Linked DNA regions of Homo sapiens: region 1 is linked to region 2. The links are contacts of gene promoters, found by promoter capture Hi-C in blood cells and fetal thymus (Javierre and others, 2016). All regions are on one chromosome and are shown on one strand. The core of a region is centred on a gene start or on the middle of the fragment in contact, and the rest is flanking DNA. Distances in the headings are between cores, read along the strand shown. Region 1 has its middle 23 kb from the start of CD24. Region 2 holds the start of RTN4IP1 (reticulon 4 interacting protein 1).

Region 1 (6,473 bases), core at 3,315-5,814, 370 kb after region 2:
GCTGCCATATTCGCTTTGGCCTGCCAACATTTACATAAGGAGGAAATAGACTTCTTTCTTGTTTAAGCCACTTTTACTTTGGGATTTCTGTCATGAACAGCCAAACTTAATCCTAACTTGCCTAATTCTCTTTTTTTAATCCATTACAAAGACCTATTGATTCTACCTTAACTATCCTTCCCCTTCCATCCATGCTGCCACTGCCTTGGTTCAGTTCTTCAACATTTCTTGCAAAGGTTATTAGTTAATCTCCTGTTTTTTCAGCCTTCAGTGATGCCCTTTTTCAATGCTTCCCAGGTAAGTAGTTCTAAAATGCAAATCTGATCATTTCATTGATCTGTTTAAAATCCTTCAGGGTAGGCCGGGCACGGTGGCTCATGCCTGTAATCCCAGCACTTTGGGAGGCCAAGGGGCAGATCACGAGGTCAGGAGATCGAGACCATCCTGGCTAACACGGTGAAACCCCGTCTCTACTAAAAATCCAAAACAATTAGCCGAGCATGGTGGCGGGCGCCTGTAGTCCCAGCTACTCAGGAGGCTGAGGCAGGAGAATGGTGTGAACCCGGGAGGCGGAGCTTGCATTGAGCCAAGATCGCGCCACTGCACTCCAGCCTGGGCAACAGAGCAAGACTCCATCTCAAAAAAAAAAAAAAAAAAATCCTTCAGGGTATATGGTGGGGATGTCTTGCCAGATAACAATAATTCAAGCATACCCTGAGAATGACCCCAGGTTCTCTTTCTTTGTTTTTTTGAGACAAAGTCTCACTCTGTCACCCAGGCTGGAGTGTAATAGTGCGATCTCAGCTCACTGCAACCTCCACCTCCCAGGCTCAAGTGATTCTCCTGCCTCAGCCTCCCGTGTAGCCAGTACTACAGGTGCACAGCACCGCATTGGGCTAATTTTTGTATTTTTGGTAGAGATTGGGTTTCACCATGTTGCCCAGGCTAGTCTCGAATGAGACCAGAGCTCAGGTGATCTGCCTGCCTCAGCTTCCAAAAGTGCTGGGATTACAGGTGTGAGCCACTGTACCAGGCCGTTTGTTTGTTTGTTTGTTTGTTTGTTTGTTTGAGACAGGGGTCTCACTGTGTTGCCCAGGCTGGTCTTGAACTGCTGGGCTCAAATGATCTTCCTGCCTCAGCCTCCCAAAGTGCTAAGATTACAGGCATGAGCTGCCATACATGGCTGACCCTATGTTCTTTGGTGAATGTTTGTTCACTGTTCTGAGCTATGGACTCTGGGAGAGGCCAACCTGGATGTTTACGCTGTACTTATGAAGGTGTGAAGGCTCAGAGCAGGGACACAGATGGGGGCATGAAGAACACCTGGACCCTGGCCTCGTTCCTTGGAACACAAGTCATACAAGAAGCCAGTGGCCTAGGCTGGGCACAGTGGCTTACGGCTGTAATCCCAGCACTTTGGGAGGCCAAGGCAGGCAGATCACTTGAGGTCAGGAGTTCGAGACCAGCCTTGCCAACATGGTGAAACCCCATCTCTACTAAAAAACATACAAAAATTAGCCGGGCATGGTGGCACGTGCCCACCATGCTACTCGGGAGGCTGAGGCATGAGAATCGCTTGAACCCAGGAGGCAGAGGTTACAGTGAGCCAAGATGGCACCACTGTGCTCCAGCCTGTGAGACAGAGTAAGACTCCTTCTCAAAAAAAGAAAAAAAAATAAATCAATGGCCTTTGTTTTAAGCTAGGTGGAGGTTGCTAAGTAGAGGTTGCTGTGTGGGAGTTCCTACTAACCTGCATGCTTTCCACAAAAGGCAGTGGAACTCCTGTCCAGCCTTCCACTCTTGGACACTCCATACATAAGTCCCCTGAATAAACTCTGTCTTTTTTTTTTTTTTTTTTTTTGAGATGGAGTTTCACTATTGTTGCCCAGGCTGCAGTGCAATGGCACAATCTTGGCTCACTGCAACCTCTGCCTCCTGGGTTCAAGTGATTCTCCTACCTCAGCCCCCTGAGTAGCTGGGATTACAGGCGTGCGCCACCATGCCCAGCTCATATTGTATTTTTAGTAGAGACCAGGTTTCTCCATGTTGATCAGGCTGGTCTCAAACTCCCGATCTCAGGTGATCTGCCCCTCTCAGCCTCCCAAAGTGCTGGGATTACAGGTGTGAGCCACCATGCCCGCCCTAAACTCTATGTCTTACCCACTGTCTTCAGGTCTTTTCTTCGGTCTCTCGGTGACTGTGCCTTCCCAGTTTGCCTGTTTGGGGGCCCAGCACAACACAAGGAAGAACGCAAGCCAAGGTCTTTCTTTGCTTGGATGATTTCTATGCATTTCTCAGGACCCAGATTAGTGTCATCTCCTTGGAAAGCCATCCCTTACCCTTCAGCCTTGGTTAGGGCCTTTCTGAAGTGTCCACCCCTGCATCCCCCAAGTCCCCAAGCTTTCCTCTGTCATTGTACGTGTAACAGGGATTGCAGCTTTTTCCTCACCAGCTGAGCTCCTTAAAGAAAGGAACCACATCATGTTCATCTTCCTTTCCCCAGTACCTAGTAAAGTGCCTAGTACATAATAAGTCCTCAGCAAATGAATTTCTACACAGGAACCACCAGAATCCAAGCACAATGAGAGGAAGGCCACCTTTTACTCTAACTCCGCCTACTCACTTTATCTTGAATTTATTAACATCCTAGGCTAAGAGCCATTTTATATCTCAACAGAAACAGCAATCTTAGAAAATATCTTCAAGTAACTCTTAAATTAGGATACTATTAAGCCTCCTGGCTAATCTTAGAGCCCTTCGATGGTAGTTTTTTGATTTATATAACCAGTTTCTAAAACACATCTTCACTCACTAATAAACCGACACGTATGTGGGTCATTCTTCTGAAATTTGTGTTTTATTCTAACTGTATATGAAGACTTTGATTTGGTTGTACATGAGAATTTAATCTTTCCACTATGGTGGTAATTTTTTATTTGTCTTAGAGCCTCAGATGTGGCCACCCTGGGTACAACAGGGCATATCATTTCTGTCTCATCTGTAACCTACAGGATCAAGCAGACCTGAGCTCAGATTTCAGCTCACCCACTTCCACCACAGACTTGCCTTTCTGAGCCTCCTGTAAAATGAAAATGATCATATTTATGCTGGAGAGTGTAACAGGATGTGAACATGGAAGTCCTTTCTGTCTCCATTTCAACCGAAGCTCAAAGGCCTTCAACAAAACAAGTTCTCAGGTTCCAAAGTGAGGTGCCAAGCGCCCCCTGCAGGAACTGCAGAGCAAAGGCGCTTTCTCCTCACCCCAGTCCAGTGAGAGGTGCTCTTAGGGGAATAACGGGAGAGACAAACACTTATCTCTTAGAGTTTAGTGGAAGAAGAAAAAAGAATGAGAAATTTAAAGGTCAAGGCTGTGCCAGAGCAGGAAAGGGGCTGCATCATGGGCAGCCTGCCCATCCTCCAACGTCAGCCAGAGACACTCAGCTCTACGTTCCAGACGTGGGCTCCCAGGAGAGCTCTCTGGGGTGCATTTTGAAAGGCCCCCAACCTGAGGTGACATTCTGCCATGGGCAAGCCAGCCTCAGCAGGGGCTGGAGGCGTTCCACAGAGCAGAAAGGGGGACGCGGTCGTGTGTGGGGGGCGTCAAAAGCAAGGCAGCAGCATTGCCCCAGTCAGGCCTGTTGCCACACTGGGGGCAGAGGGAAAGCTTTCTCTCTGCCCACTGAAGGTTTGCAGAGCATAAACTGATGAAATGCAGATACACAGGAGAAAAAGGCATACGAAATTTACTTAATGTGCATAGAAGAAAATCACAAGACTATGATTACCCAGTAACCCGATGAGGCCCGGCTGCTTATATTCTTCTCCATGGGGAAAGGGAGACAGGGGTTGTAGGAGTAAATGATTTCCAAAGGAAATGAATGAGCCAAAGAACGATGGCTGGGGACAAAGTTCCTTTGAGCACTGGGGAAGGCGGCAGGAAGGTGAGGGGTGGACTATTACTGTGAACAAGTGTTCTTTTTTTTTTTTTTTTTTTTTGAGACAGAGTCTCACTCTGTCACCCAGGCTGGAGTGCAGTGGCATGATCTTGGCTCACTGCAACCTCCACCTCCCGGGTTCAAGCAATTCTCCTGCCTCAGCCTCCCCAGTAGCTAGGACTACAGGTGCGCACCACAACGCCCGGCTAATGTTTGTATTTTTAGTAGAGACGGGGTTTCACCATGTTGGTCAGGCTGGTCTCAAACTCCTGACCTCAGGTGATCCACCTGCCTCAGTCTCCCAAAGTGCTGGGATTACACACACACATGAGCCACCGCCCAGACCATCAATGTTGTCTTATTATGCAGATAAAGTCTCCCAGGCAATCTCTCAGGGCTGCTGTCAGAAGAATAGTTAAAAGCTCCACCTGGTTCGGTGGCTCACCCCTGCAATCCCAGCACTTTCAGAGGCCGAGGCGGACAGATCACCTGAGGTCAGGAGTTTGAGACCAGCCTGGCCAACATGGGGAAACCCTGTCTCTACTAAATACAAACATTAGCCAGTGTGGATGCAAGTGCCTGTAATCCCAGCTACTGGGGAGGCTGAGGCAGGATAATCACTTGAACCTGGGAATTGGAGGTTGCAGTGAGCCAAGATCAAGCCACTGCACTCCAACCTGGGTGACAGAGGGAGACTCCGTCTCAAAAAAAAAAAAAAAAGAAGAAGAATAGTTGAAGGCTGCGTACAGTGGCTCACACCTTTAACCCAGCACTTTGGGAGGCTGAGGTAGGAGGGCCCTTTCAGCCCAGTAGTTTGAGACCAGCCGGGGCAACATGACAAAACCCTGTGTCTACACACACACACACACACACACACACACACATACACACAAACACAAAAGCCAGGCACACAGCTGTAGTCCCAGCTACTCTGGAGGCTGAAGTGGTGGAGGCTGAGTTAGGAGGATTGCTTGACCCTGGAAGGTAGAGGCTGCAGTGAGCTGTAATCTCGCTACTGTACTCCACACTGGTTGACAGAGTGAGCTGCTGTCTCAAAAAAAATTTTTTTTGGCCGGGAGCGGTGGCTCACGCCTGTAATCCCAGCACTTTGAGAGGCCAAGGCGGGTGGATCACAAGGTCAGGAGCTCGAGACCAGCCTGGCCAAGATGGTGAAACCCCATCTCTACTAAAAATACAAAAATGAGCCGGGCACAGTGGCAGGTGCCTGTAATCCCAGCTACTTGGGAGGCTGAGGCAGGAGAATAGCTTGAACCCAGGAGGCAGAAGTTGCAGTGAACCAAGATCGCACACTCTAGCCTGGGCAACAGAGCAAGACTCTGTCTCAAAAAAAAAGGTTTTTTTTACTAATAATTTAAAATTTACATAATAAAATAAAAATAGATGGAAAGTCTATCTGGGTATGGTGATGACTCCCAGTCTCTTCTATTCTCGGGTAGTTGATCATTCCTGGCTATCTGATGAGGTTCCTAGAGAGAGGGGTCTTAAAATAATTGCATTTATTTTGGAAAGAAGCTTTGTTAGTCAGATAAGGAAATTCCAGAGAGAGTTCCTGGGAAAGAAAGAGAAACAAAGAGACAGAAAAGCTGGGAAAAGTCAAGAGAGGGAACTTGGTTCTGAGGCTTATCTCTGAGGCCTTTCAATTTCAAGAAGTAAACTCCATGAGTTTGAAAGAGTTGGCTTAATCTTCTCAGTGTACACAATCAAATATGTACATAATTATATACGTACATAATCGTATAAATTCAGTGTATATAATTGTATAAATTTATGAAAGTTGTTATCCCCTACTGTTTCCCAGAAAACCCTTGACTCGGAGATGGGAAGAACTTGCATTCATTGTGCACCCCTTAGACAACTGTCTGTTCCATCACACACCAAGGCCTTCATGGACATCTCTGGCCCTGCTGAAATGGAATAAAGAAACTCCCGGCCAGGCGCGGTGGCTCACACCTGTAATCCCAGCACTTTGGGAGGGTGAGGCGGGCAGATTACGATGTCAAGAAATTGAGACCATTCTAGCCAACATGGTGAAACCCCGTCTCTACTAAAAATACAAAAATTAACCGGGCGTGGTGGTGGACATCTGTAGTCCGAGCTACTCGGGAAACTGAGGCAGGAGAATTGCTTGCACTAGGAGGTGGAGGTTTCAGTGAGCCGAGATCGCGCCACTGTACTCCACCCTGGGTGACAGAGCAAGACTCTCTCAAAAAAAAAAAAAAAAAAAAAAAAGTAAGCATTTGGTCTAAATTATGCAAGTCAGATATTAAGTTTACTAAATGCTTTAAGGTCATAAAGTGCTTCTTTGTCTTTTGAAAATTGTTCAATTTACCTACTTTGGAGCATTAGATTCTAAATAAAGACTAGGATATGTGGAATTAGCCATGCCCCCTAGCTATGCAAAGAAGGTTATAAAGAAAAGATTTTAAGGCTGGGTGTGGTGGCTCACACTCATAATCCCAGCATTTTGGGAGGCCGAGGAGGGTGGATTACTTGAGGTCAGGAGTTTTAGACTAGCCT
Region 2 (5,938 bases), core at 326-2,825:
CTGGGTGTGGCGGCGCATGTCTGTAGTCCCAGCTACTTGGGAGGCTGAAGCAGGAGAATCGCTTGAACCCGGAAGGCGGAGGTTGCAGTGAGCCAGGAAAGCGCCCTTGCACTCCAGCCTGCCGATAGAGTGAGACTCTGTCTCAAAAACAAACAAAAAACCCCATAAATTCTAAACTGACTAGGAAACAACTATACTTCCGAAGCCTGTGACGGATCTCAGAATACCACAAAGTTCCCTGGACAGAAATTTAGCTACAAACATAGGCAGGGCGCAATGGCTCGTCTGTAATCCCAGCACTTAGGGGGCGGAGGCAGAGGATCGCCTGAGGTCAGGAGTTCGAGACCAGCCTGACCAACATAGTGAAACCCCATCTCTACTAAAAATACAAAAAATTAGCCCGGTGTGGTGGCATGCGCCTGTAATCCCAGCTACTCGGGAGGCTGAGGCAGGAGAAATTGCTTGAACCCAGGATGCGGAGGTTGCAGTGAGCTGAGATCAGGCCACCGCACTCTAGCCTGGGTGACAGAGTGAGACTCAGTCTCAAAAAAAAAAAAGTTAGCTACAGACACAGTTCTCAAGTCTGAACTTACATATTTAAGGACGCATGAAAACAATCAAGCTTATATTTTGTCAATACAAATGGCCAGAAGGATTCCCTGGCCATTGCAATTTCAAAAATTTTGGAAATATTTGCAGAGGTATTGTTAAAAACCTAAATGATTCATTTATGTAAACCAAAGAAGCGTAGTCAATTTTTTAAAACGGCATACCTTATGAAAGTGATTTTTTTAAAAAAGGTAACAATGTCTTTTGAAAACTTACTTCTCATATTAACGTCTATAGGATTTACACTGGCAGCGTGAACTTTGACAATGACTTCATTTGGATAGTGTATGATAGGCATCATCATGTTCTGAGTGAATCGAAGCACTTCATTCTTCCCATATTTATCTATCACCCAAGCAGGCATGACAGTGCTCCTAGGAGAGGTAGTACTAATCCTTCTAACTGAAGGCTTTTGGACAACTTTGCTTCTCCAGAAGCAAACCGCAGTGCATGCATTTCTTCTAAGTACACAAGTCTTCAGAAATTCCATTGTAAACACTGGTTGAACTGCGTGCTCAAATTCAAATACACTTGGACTGGATCAAACTCTCACCCCTGAATTCAGTCAAATTCTGCCAAACCACGGGCTAGTTTCAAAATTAAGCATGCAAAACGGAGCATTCGAAAATGAAGCTAATCTAATGGAGAAACTGAAAGAAGAATACGGAACTGTTATTCCGCTCTTCGCATATGAAATGCTCGAATTAACGTTCCAGTCAGTATTCTGTCCATTCTCCTCCCTCACTTTCACCCCCTCCACTTTAAAAAAAAAAGGGGGGGCGGGGCATTAAAAAGCAGGTGCGCAAACCCCCTAGATCCCTGCCCTGTCCTGGGAGCCCTCGGCGGGACAAGCAGACACCGCTCGCGATCCAACGCCAGAGAATCGAACGCTTGCCGACTGCCGCCGCGACCCTGGCCCGGAATCTCCTTGCCTGCCCGCTCTCCTTAGCCGCCGGGATGGCTTTGCGGCGCCAACCAATCGCCTACAAAGATCATTTCCTCGGGCTGCAATTCAACCAATCCAAGTACTCGGTGTTGAAGGGCTCAGTGACAATTAAAGATGGCTGCGCCCATGTAACATCACTAGCGACCGGTGACCTCTTTTTCCCCCTTGCCTGGCTCCTGTGGTGGCAGGCTGGGCACGAGGACCATGCTGGGCCGGAGCCTCCGAGAAGTGAGTGGAATTGGCCCGCTGAGGCCCCCGGGAGGGCGGAAAGTTTAACGGACTTCGTTGACAAAGAGTCCCTGGGCCTTACCACGCATCTTGGCCCACCTCGCTGCTTCCTCTAGAACTGAGTGGGGGATAAGTACCTTTCGATTCTTCGGGTGTACTCGCCGTACCCATTCAGGAGTTAGGACCTTAGCAGGGAAATCTCTGCACCGCGGATCTGTAGGGTGGTGAAGCGGCTTCTCACCATTAGACATTTGCTCTGGTGTAGGTCGGGATCCGGATGGTCTCGGAGTGGGCTTTGCCAAAGGGGGCTTGCGGGGCCACTTCAGTCTCTCTTCTGTCCCCGACACTTAGCTGCAGTTGTCGCTAAGAAGCCCGGCGAAACTGTAGTTTGCAAAATTCAAATGAGTAATTTTTGGCTTTTTTCAAAGAATTCGTTCTCTAGGATTTACCTACCACTAAGATACCAGTGATTTCCTAACCCGTGTCTCCATGTCCTGGACGTCGTGTTTGAATTCTAGACTGTATTTGTGAATGCTTTCTGGGCAGTTCTTCTAAATGTCACATAAGCACCCTCAAATTCACTTTAATCGGTGTTGAAGTAATCATTGTAACAGGACTTACCTCTCAACCCCCGTCTTAAAAAAGCTCTGGTATTTCTGAATTCTTAATAGACTCTTTTTAATGGCACAACTATTATCTCATTTGCCTTTAGATTCTTCCTCATCTTTCATATCCAATAAATCACTAAGCCCTCTTCATTCTATCTTGCAGATATGGCTGGAATCTGCCCTCTTACGTTATTTCTGCTGTTATAGCTTTAATTCGGGTCTTTTTGCTTCCTGGTTCACGTCACTCAACCTTAGAACTGTCTGCAGGCCCATTGCTATCAGAGTCACATAAAGCACCTGTTGAAACTAAAACTATGCCCCACTCTAGACTTAATTAGAGCTGTGTGGTAAGTTCGGGAGTATGGTTTAATGGAGGCTCCAGGTGATTTCTGGTAAGAAGTAGGCGCTGATGACCTAAACTGCCTTCCATCTTCCTTTTTATTCCACCCTAGAAGTTGTCGTTTTGTTTGTTTCCCAGCTGGCAGCGTGGAATTATAATTATAGATAGCTGTAATATATAATGAGAAATTGAAATCCACAGGCTTTAAATAATAGTTCTTCCCCCAAAATACATTATTATGTTATCATTTTAAATTGCGTCGAATCAAATTTGTTCTTTAAAAAATAAATATGCCCGGCGCGGTGGCTCACGCCTGTAATCCCAGCACTTTGGGAGGCCGAGGCGGGTGGATCACGAGGTCAGGAGATCGAGACCATCCTGGCTAACACGGTGAAACCCCATTTCTACTAAATATACAAAAAATTAGCCGGGCGTAGTGGCGGGCGCCTGTAGTCCCAGCTACTCGGGAGGCTGAGGCAGGAGAATGGCGTGAACCCGGGAGGCGGAGCTTGCAGTGAGCCAAGATCACGCCACTGCACTCCAGCCTGGGCGGCAGAGCAAGACTCCGTCTCAAAAAATAAATAAATAAAATAAAAATAAATAAACAGACAACACCCAAAACTTGTTTTAAAATTAAATACAACCTATAAAAATATGTTATTTCCTTTTTCTGCCTTTTCCACTGTCAATCTAAGTAACAGAAAGAGACTCTAAAGAAAATATTTATTTTGGAGTAGCAATGCAATGGGAATATGTGTAATATTGTAAACTATGTGCCTATTCAAGAAGGTTGAGGCAAGGGATGTTTTTAAAGACAGAATGAGAAGGATTACTTAAATTATTTTGAATCAGTTATCCTTGGCCACAAGGATCAGTCACAAAGGTGGCATCAGTCCAAGGTTGGATGGCCAGTTGCTGGACAGACATTCTTACAGAAGTACTCGTGTGTGTGGAAGGTTGCAATGGCCTTTGTGCAAGGTTGTGTTTTTTGCAGTCTTATGATTGTTTTTAAAAAAAAATTTTAATGGGTACATAGTAGGTGTATGTATTTATGGGGCACATGAGATATTTTGATACAGGCATACAATGCATAATAATCACATCAGAGTAAATGGTGTATCCATCACCTCAAGCATTTATCATTTCTTTGTGTTACAAACGTTCCAGTTATACTCTTTTAGTTATTTTTAAACGTACAATAAACTATTGTTGACTGTAATCACCTGCTGTGCTATCAAATACTGTATCTTATTCATTCTGTCTAACTATATTTTGTACCCATTACCCATCCCCACTTCCCACCCCTACTACTACCCTTTCAGGCCTCTAGTAACCATCATTCTACTCTACCTCCACGAGGTCAATTGTTTTCATTTTTAGCTCCCACAAATAGGTGAGAACATGGGAAGTTTGTCTTTCTGTGCCTGGCTTATTTCACTTAACATAATGCCCTCCAGTTCCATCCATGTTGTTGCAATTGACAAGCTCTCGTTCTTTTTATGGCTGAATAGTACTCCATTGTGTACATGTAGGACATTTTCTCTATCCATTCATCTGTTGGTAGATACTTAGCTTGCTTTCAAATCTTGGCTATTGTGAATAGTGCTGCAATAAACATGAGAGAGCAGATATGTCTTTGCTATGTTGATTTTCTTTCTTTTAGGTGCATATATACGTAGCAGTGGGATTGCTGGATCGTATGGTAGTTCTATTTTTATTTATTTATTTTTAATTATTTTTTTTTTAGAGATGGGGTCTCACTATGTTGGCCAGGTTGGTCTTGAATTCTTGGCTTCAAGCAATCCTCCTCCCTCAGCCTCCCAAAGTGCTAGGATTACAGGTGTGAGCCACTGTGCCCAACCAGTAGTTCTATTTTTAGGTTTTTAAGGCACCTCCATACTATTCTCCATAGTGGCTGTAGTAATTTACATTTCATCCAACTTTTCTCCATCCTCACCAGCATTCATTATTGCCTGTCTTTTGGATAGAAGCTATTTTAACTGGAGTGAGATGATATCTCATTGTAGTTTTGATTTGCAATTCTCTGATGATCAGTGATGTTGAGCACATTTTCATATACCAGTTTGCCATTTATATGTCTTTCTTTTGAGAAATGTCTATTCCAATCTTTTGCCCATTTTTAATTTGATTATTGGATTTTTTCCTGTTGAGTTGTTTGAACTCCTTATATACTTCGGTTATCAATCCCTTGTCAGCTGGAGTGTGATAGTTCTTCTTATCAGGCATTCATGCGTGAGAACCCTCTCTTCTTGACCTTCCTTGGCTCCATTTGTCAGGATTTTAACACAAGTCACTCTATTTTGATTTTGACAACTGTCATAGCTCCTTAAGTGCTACCTTTTTTAGTGCTACTTCTCTCTGGTGTCATTGAGTTAGCCATTGTGAAAAACAACTTTTGCCGCATGGGGGGAGAAAAGAACTATTTAGGAGAGCTGACCCAGGGGAAAATCCAGAGGTTGCCTTGGCATGATTGCTTTTACTTTATCACTCCTTTAACAAATACTGATTAATGCCTAGCATGCAAAATATTTGGTGGTTATTTCCCCAGCTCTAAAACTACCTTCTGTCTACTTTGTATTTTTTCCACATCACTGTACTGTTGCCCTAAATTCTACCAATTAGAGATTAATTAATTCATACAAATTATCTTTTAATTTAATTCTCTTTTAAATATGTACAGATGCCTGGGAAGGTTGAACAATTTTTCCACCCATTGTTGTAAATTATAACAGTTCAAATTTCTTCATAATACCTTAATTGAGATAATCAGTTGAAGAGGGGGAAATTTGCGGGGAATTAGGGAGAAGGGCTGGAAATGATGGCAGCAATTTGGGGGATGTGAGTGGAAGCTTATGGTAACAGGAGTCCTGGGAATAGGCACAAAAAGGAGGTAAAATGCCAAATAGGTAAAATTCCCATTTGTAAATTTTACCCAAGTACATTCAGAAAGGGGGAGGAAATCTCACTTTTACCTTTGTCTTTTGTGGCATGATCCCAGTGTTTCTAGGAGTGAGGCACCAGGCTAATATTATTAATCCTAAAGTTTAAAGAATGATATATTCATTTGGCTTCTTGGAGCTTCAACTTTAGAAAAACTAATCATTGTTCTATAGGGAAATCGATTCTAAATTTTAAACAACTGTTATTCATTCAACTAACATTTAGTGAGTACCTCTGTGTTCCAAG

Evidence for each region. The method cuts DNA at HindIII sites, captures the fragments that hold promoters and counts their contacts. A CHiCAGO score of 5 or more calls a contact.
Region 1: a contact is called between a fragment that was not itself captured here and the fragment with the promoter of RTN4IP1 in region 2, in 3 of 17 cell types (total B cells, naive B cells and neutrophils). The highest score is 7.2, in total B cells.

The regions. Positions count from the first base shown.
Region 1 is chr6:106,994,582-107,001,054 of GRCh38, forward strand. No RefSeq gene overlaps it. Among named protein-coding and RNA genes, the nearest start is that of CD24, 23 kb to the left of the region's middle. The HindIII fragment of the contact is 1,804 bases long and covers 3,663-5,466 here.
Region 2 is chr6:106,627,923-106,633,860 of GRCh38, forward strand. It overlaps RTN4IP1 (reticulon 4 interacting protein 1), which reads right to left and starts at 1,576. Exons shown (of 9, transcript NM_032730.5): 1 at 826-1,576. The coding sequence starts at 1,099. It overlaps QRSL1 (glutaminyl-tRNA amidotransferase subunit QRSL1), which reads left to right and starts at 1,656. Exons shown (of 11, transcript NM_018292.5): 1 at 1,656-1,783. The coding sequence starts at 1,760. RefSeq lists enhancers at 1,658-1,797, 1,828-1,887. The HindIII fragment of the contact is 4,979 bases long and covers 621-5,599 here.